Linked DNA regions of Homo sapiens: region 2 is linked to region 1. Evidence: promoter capture Hi-C in human tissues and cell types (Jung and others, 2019). All regions are on one chromosome and are shown on one strand. The core of a region is centred on a gene start or on the middle of the fragment in contact, and the rest is flanking DNA. Distances in the headings are between cores, read along the strand shown.

The links. Contacts are between HindIII fragments. The study calls those that stand out against the background at their distance.
Region 2: a contact is called between a fragment that was not itself captured here and the fragment with the promoter of FGF4 in region 1, in 1 of the 25 tissues and cell types used here (neural progenitor cells).

Annotation. Positions count from the first base shown.
Region 1 is chr11:69,773,967-69,777,567 of GRCh38, reverse strand. It overlaps FGF4 (fibroblast growth factor 4), which reads left to right and starts at 2,227. Exons shown (of 3, transcript NM_002007.4): 1 at 2,227-2,823; 2 at 3,441-3,544. The coding sequence starts at 2,484. RefSeq lists enhancers at 555-1,478, 3,328-3,601 and promoters at 1,943-2,338, 1,226-2,338. The HindIII fragment of the contact is 23,973 bases long and covers 1-3,601 here.
Region 2 is chr11:69,726,690-69,730,433 of GRCh38, reverse strand. No RefSeq gene overlaps it. Among named protein-coding and RNA genes, the nearest start is that of FGF19, 25 kb to the right of the region's middle. The HindIII fragment of the contact is 8,947 bases long and covers 1-3,744 here.

The sequences.
Region 1 (3,601 bases), core at 978-3,477:
TGGGATAAGTCATTGGCAGGAAGATCTGGGGCCGGGGGTCATCCAGTGGGAAGGGGAGAGATGACGCGGTCAGCATGGCGGGAACACAGGAGCAGAAAGGAAGCAGGTGGGAAGCCAGGTCAAGGGCCAGGGGCACGGAAAGGGGTCAGATGCAGATAAGTGAGTGCTTCCTGGTGCATCCTTCATCCGCAATTCTTCCTTACCTGTGCTTTTGTTGCCTCCATTGCACAGCTGAGGAGGCCAGGGCCTGCGGAGGTTGAGAGTGTGCTCAGGGAGCACCCGGAGCAAAGTGGAAGCCAGATTCCAGATCAGTTCTGCTGGGAATTCCCAGCTCCCAAAAGCCCTGCTGGCTGTCAGTCCCCAGTCACCACAAGCACCTATCCTGTGTGGGTGGGCCTGCAGTTCTGGGAGATATATCAGCTGCCTGCAGCGTCCTTTGCTGAACTCACAGCAAATAGGAGAGACAGGGAGGGGTCCTTGGGAAGCCCTAAATTGAGCTTGCTGTGGGAGTCCTGGGAAGAAAGGAGCCTCATCCTATCAAAAGCCGGGGGAAGACATCAGAGTCCCTCTGCTCAGGTCAGCTGGCACAGGTGGGTCTCCAGGCCTGGGTCTCACTTCCCCAGAGGGTGTGTTCGGTTGGCCCCAGGCTGAGGGAGGAAAGCCCACCTCCCATGTCATTTTGCAAATGGGGAGTCAGGGACCTAGAGATGGAAAGACAACACAGCAAGTGAGGGATGGGTTCTAGGTCCCCTGCACCCTGCACCCTGCACCCTGGCCAACGATGTCTATTTGGCACCAGATCTGCAGGCTCATCTGGGGGACCCCAGGACCCAGAGGCAGCCGGGTTGCATCTCGAAGCTGTGAGCTGCAGCCCAGGAAGGTCCAGGTCTGGGTGGCGCTGCCCAAGCAGGCTGCAGGCCCAAGGAGGAACAAAGATCCTCTCAAGGGGTGCGGAGCTGAGGTTCCGGTCCTGCCAAAGCCACTTGATGACCCCCAAGTGCCCCCCTTTCTGCACCTCAGAGAAGAGCCCTCAAGCCTCCCAGGTCCCCTCCAGGGGCACGAATAAGCCCCAGCAGGGTTCTGAAGGGGTCCCAGGAATCTCCCTGTGGGGATGCGGTGGAGGTGGAGGAGGCTGCGGTGGCCTGGGGACATCTCTGGTCACAGGTGCTGGTGGTATGAGAGATGGGGTAGGCACCAAGCCCCCTGCAGCTGTGGCTAGGCGGGCCTGCAGGAAGGGCCAGGCAGGCTCCTCAGGGACCACAAAGAACAGGGGTTTTCACACCTAGGTGGGCCTGCATCTAGCTAGGACAGTCCCCATCAGGCCATAATGGGCACAGTGGGAGGTAGAACCATGAGTGAGAGAGGGGAGGCTTCCAGAGGCCTGGCCTGGGTCCCTGCTAGATTGAGGGCTCTGGCTATGGTACATGGATATTTCTGCTGTGGAATCAAAGGAGCAGGGGATGCTGAATATCCCCTCTGGCCCTATGCCCTGCTACCTGTCCTTTCACGGAAGGGTGTGTGTGTAGGGGGTGCAGGACCAGGCCTCCCTGGGTGCATCTCTGCCACCTTGCCCTTTGGCTCAGGTGGACCTCCACCAGGTATTCAGAACTCCAGCCCAGAAACGCGCCAAGCCTGTGGGGCCAAGACCTAGGGGGTGGGGGTGGCCTCCCTCCCGCCTGTAGCCAAAGGGTCCTCCCTTGCCCAGCCAGGCCCCGGTGTCGCTTACTGCTCTTATCCACCCCTCCTTCCCAGGCCGGTCCTCAAGGCCCCAGCAAAGGAACCAAGTTCCCGTGAGCCTCCGAAAGGCGAAGGGCAGGCAGCAGCCGCTGGCTTCTGCGCCCACTAGGAGCTTCGGATGCCCGAGTTAGGGCTGCGCCAAGGCGGCCGGAGCAGAGAGGGAGACGGGGACGGGGACAGGCAGGGACAAAGTGCAAGAGGCAAAACTGGCTGAAAAGCAGAAGTGTAGGAGCCGCCAAGGGGCGGGACGAACAGGTCCGTGGGCCGGGCGGAGCCAAGGGTGGGGGCCGGGGTCCCTCCAGGTGGCACTCGCGGCGCTAGTCCCCAGCCTCCTCCCTTCCCCCGGCCCTGATTGGCAGGCGGCCTGCGACCAGCCGCGAACGCCACAGCGCCCCGGGCGCCCAGGAGAACGCGAACGGCCCCCCGCGGGAGCGGGCGAGTAGGAGGGGGCGCCGGGCTATATATATAGCGGCTCGGCCTCGGGCGGGCCTGGCGCTCAGGGAGGCGCGCACTGCTCCTCAGAGTCCCAGCTCCAGCCGCGCGCTTTCCGCCCGGCTCGCCGCTCCATGCAGCCGGGGTAGAGCCCGGCGCCCGGGGGCCCCGTCGCTTGCCTCCCGCACCTCCTCGGTTGCGCACTCCTGCCCGAGGTCGGCCGTGCGCTCCCGCGGGACGCCACAGGCGCAGCTCTGCCCCCCAGCTTCCCGGGCGCACTGACCGCCTGACCGACGCACGGCCCTCGGGCCGGGATGTCGGGGCCCGGGACGGCCGCGGTAGCGCTGCTCCCGGCGGTCCTGCTGGCCTTGCTGGCGCCCTGGGCGGGCCGAGGGGGCGCCGCCGCACCCACTGCACCCAACGGCACGCTGGAGGCCGAGCTGGAGCGCCGCTGGGAGAGCCTGGTGGCGCTCTCGTTGGCGCGCCTGCCGGTGGCAGCGCAGCCCAAGGAGGCGGCCGTCCAGAGCGGCGCCGGCGACTACCTGCTGGGCATCAAGCGGCTGCGGCGGCTCTACTGCAACGTGGGCATCGGCTTCCACCTCCAGGCGCTCCCCGACGGCCGCATCGGCGGCGCGCACGCGGACACCCGCGACAGTGAGTGGCGCGGCCAGGCGCGAAGGGGCGGGGGCGGGGGGCAACGGCCGCCGGGCCAACCCGCTCAGTCACACTCTGAGACCCTCGGCGGGCACCTGCTCGGGGGCCCCGGGAACCGGGGCGGACTCGGGCTCCGGTCCCTTCTGACGCGGGGCTGGGGACGCAGACACTCTTGGCTCCGGCAGCCCAGCGCAACCCCTGAGGTCGGGCGCCGCCTCCCGCCTTCAGAAACTCGGGCTCCGAGCGCCGAATTCCAGCGCCTTCGCCCGTGGGCACAGGGCGCGCGGTGCAGCCACAGGGGGCCCGAGACACGCGCCCCGGCCTGGCCCAGGCTGGGGAACCGCTGGGGTCGGGCTCGCGTCTGAAGGTCCGGGACTGGGTGCGGCCGCCGGGGGTCCCCTACACAGGCAAGCTAATCTGAGCTAGCGCAGGCTTGGGCTCCGGAGGCCCTAGAGGGCAGCTTGGGCTCTGGAGGCCCTTGGGGGCGGCTGCGCCGGGAACCCTGGCCCTTTATCCCCAACCCCACCCCAGAAATAGGGTCCCCGGAGGCGAACAAGCCGAGGGGCGGAGTGGGCCAGGGATCACCTGCCCCGCAATGACCTGCGCCCCGCCCCCAGGCCTGCTGGAGCTCTCGCCCGTGGAGCGGGGCGTGGTGAGCATCTTCGGCGTGGCCAGCCGGTTCTTCGTGGCCATGAGCAGCAAGGGCAAGCTCTATGGCTCGGTGAGTACCGCAGGGGTCTGGCTAGGCACCTAGTTGGGAACAGCGGACATGGCTAGC
Region 2 (3,744 bases), core at 1,076-3,575, 47 kb after region 1:
CTGCATTTACTGACCTCCTAAGGCCACAGAGCTGTGGCTCCGTCTGACCCCTCTCCCCCATGCTTACCAGGCAGGCAAGCTCCCTGATGTGGTTTGGCTGTGTCCCCACCCAAATCTCATCTTGAATTGTAGCTCCCATAATTCCCATGTGTTGTGGGAGGGACCCAGTGGGAGATGATTGAATCATGGAGGTGATTTCCCCCATACTGTTCTCATGGTAGTGAACAAGTCTCACAAGATCTGATGGTTTTATAAGGGGCTTCCACTTTTGCTTGGCTCTTGTTCTCTCTCCTGCCGCCCTGTGAAGACGTGCCTTTTACCTTCCGCCATGATTGTAAGTTTCCTGAGGCCTCCCTAGCAATGTGGAACTGTGAGTCAATTAACCTTTTTCTTTTATAAATTACCCAGTCTCGGGTATGTCTTTATTAGCAGTGTGAGAATGAACTAATACACTTCCCAATGCCCTCGAGTTGAAATTCATTGACTCTGGTGACCCAGAACGTCTGTCTCCCTGGACTCCAGACTCTCGCCTCCAGCTGCCCCAGAGACTGCTGCATGGATGTCTCACAGGACCTCCAACTCCACAAGTCCAAACTGTGCCAGGACCTCCCACTCAAACCTGCTCTTTTCACCCACCTCCCAGCTGGGGACTCAGCCACTTCACCCTCCTGCTCCCAGGCCAGAAGCCCCATCTAGCAGCAGGCCCTGTCCCCTTACCCTGCAGGATGGAGGCAGAATCTGACCACCCCTGGTCCCAGCCACCATCGGAGTCTACCTGCGCCCCTTCCCGCTCAGTGCAGCTGCCTTTGTGCTTTTGTACTCTGGGACCCTCTTGCTCAGAGCAAAAGCCAGTGTTCTTACAAGGCCTCCAGGACCCCACAGATCTGTGAGCCGGAGCCCAATCTCAAGCAGCCCTGCTTTGGAGAGAGACATGTGTGCAAGAGCCCTGGGGTCCCTGGTGGAGGAGGGCAGCCACCTCGGACCTCCGACCCAGCCCGGCCTCCTGAGGATGGAAGTCTCAGAGGGAGACCAGCGGGCAGGTAGAGCGGTCGCAAGCTGACCTTGCTGAGTCCCCAGTTCCTGCACACAGAGTTGTGAGCAATACTAGGGTTTTGTGTGAAGCCACTAAGCTTGGGAAGCCGGCAGCACCTGATGTATTGCACACTTAGCTGCTTAGTTATTTTTCAGTCCCCACCCTGTCCTCTAGAATTACAGCTCCTCAAGGGCAGGGACTTGACTTCGCTCCCTGATGAGTCCCCAGCACCTAGACTGGTGTTTGACCAGTGACTGAGGCACTTGGTAGATATTTAGCTTATTTGAGTATTAACTGAAGAAATGGCAATGGGGCATGTTGCCAGGCACTTGGCTGCTGGCAGACCTCAGGAAATGTTGCCATCAGGTCTCTCGGGGGTGCTGACAACAAGGCCCAGCCCCGCCAATGCCAGGGGAGGAGGCAGCCACCCTCCCTCCCAGGCCTGGGCTGGCCGGCAGAACCCATGCCTAGCTCCGATGGCAGAGGCATCAGCTGCCTCTCATCTGTCTCCTCAGTTCACCTTCTGCTTCTCTGACTCTCTAATAGTCCCTTAATTGACCATTTGGCCCCTAAATTAGGGGCGATTAGGATCAACCCCCAAGCATCATTTCAGAAGGCAGCCAGGGGCCTGAAGCCCCTCTTTGGGGTCCTGGGGGTCCCTCGACTTGGTCAAATAAAGGTCAGCCCTCTGGCTTGGCATGGGTACCTTGGTAACCTCTGACCCTCAGCTCTTAAACCTGACCCCTGGTGATTCAGACCCGAGGTACTCACTGCAAATGGCCAACTAGGAAACACCCGAGGATGCAGTATGGAGACAGCTCCTCATGTGCCCGCAACCTGCAGAGCATCCCCCTGCAGCCAGCGTTCTGCTGGTCACTCTTTCTTTATGCACATAAGCTCCCAAGGTACAGAAAGGCATGCAGATACCACAGCCAGCACAGGAGGACCTCAAAACCCCATCTCATGGATTTGAGGCTCATCTTGCAGCAGTCGCTATTGTTGCCGTTCCAACCTCCTACCTGCTGCCTGGACCTAGGCAACTCTGCAAACATCTGCAAGCCTCAGTCTCCTCTTCTGCAAAACACGGACAGTCATAGCACCTGCAGTTTTGTAGTGTTGTTCTGAGGGTCATATGGCACAAGGGGCATGTCATTCTTTCTACACATGAGAAAGAGTGAATCCAAGCTCCTGGGCTCTAGAGCCATTGTCTCTCCCAGTTCCCAAGCCGGCCCCACCAATCAGGCTGGAGAAACCTCGGTGAGCTTAACTGGCCCAGGGAACGTCCAGGGTCCCACTGTTCTGGCAGTCTTTCTCCTGGGCTTGTGTGCAAGACAGTGCGCATAAGTGTGTGCACACGTGGGGGCATTTCTCTGGGCAGCCCGCATCCATATGCACACACACACACACACACACACACACACATGCCCAGGCAGGCCAGCCTGGTACAGCTGTGCAGGTTACACCCTGTGCCAGGGCCCCTCCTGGATGATGCCCATCTTCCCACAGCCTGCCAAGCTGCATGTCCAGAGCAAGGGGCATCTTTTTCTCTGTTGCAGATACTGCAAGTGCAGAGCACCTGCCAGCCTTCCCCTCCTGGTGATGCCCATCTCTCTCAAAGTCTTGACTCTGGCTTCCTCGACTCCCAGTCCCACACCTCACACTTGTGTTTCCAGCTGTAGGATGCTCCCTGGCTCCTGTTCCATGACTTCTCCCTCTCATCAGCTGCCCTCAGTTCAGGGCCCTCAGCCCTAGGGTGTGCCACCCCCATCATGGCTCTGACCGCCCAGTACCTGCCCTGCTTATCTGCGGTGCCCTCCATGGGCAGGCAGGGCCAGTGCAGTGCAGCAGTTGGACAGGTGAAACTCTTGCCCTGGTCTCCACGTCCCTGGGCCTGGCCTGGACAGACAGGCTGGGCCACCCCCTGGGAGCAGGAGGGGCATGTGTTCTGCATCCAGGCTGGCTCTGTCCAGGAGATGCCTCCGAGCCAGGCCCACCACTAGCACCCATCCGGCGCCTTGGAGAGCAGCCCGTCAATCAATGGAGGATGCAGTTGTGTGGTCTTTGAGCTGGCCCAGGACAAACGCCTGACGCAAGGCTAAATGGGGACCATCATAGCACCTGCAATTTTGTCGTGTTGTTCTGAGAGTCATATGGCACGATGGGCATATCATTCTGCCCATATCATTCCACCTCTGAAACATTTCTGTGAGGCAGGGAGAGCCACACGCCCTGTCCCCGGGAGCTCCTGGGCAGCACCCCCTCAGAAGCCAAAAATCCCAGAGAAGATGGATGCCCGCAGTGGGGCAGCAGGATGGCACGAGCTGGAGGCCTTGGGTCCCAGCTCTGCTTGGCCTCGGAGAGTCAGGCTTGCTCTCTGGGCCTCAGTTTTCCCTCAGAAACACAGGGTTCCTTCCCCCTCTGATGGTGGATGTGGCCGGGACATTGCAGACAGTAAGTAGGTGCACCCCAAGCATGAAATGGAGGCCTCAGCTCCCCACGGGAAGGGGATGGGGATGGATATGTCTGTATATTCCAGGTAGTGAGTGCAGGTGTTAGCCAGTGCTTATCGGGTTACCTCGGAATCTAAACCGTTCCCAGGGCCCACGCCCAGCGCCAGCGCTCCCCATAGGTTTATTCACACCTGGAAGCTGCAGGCGCTTGATGTGGTCCCTCTGATGTGCGTGCGCTCTGAAACCTAAACCCCCTTTGCT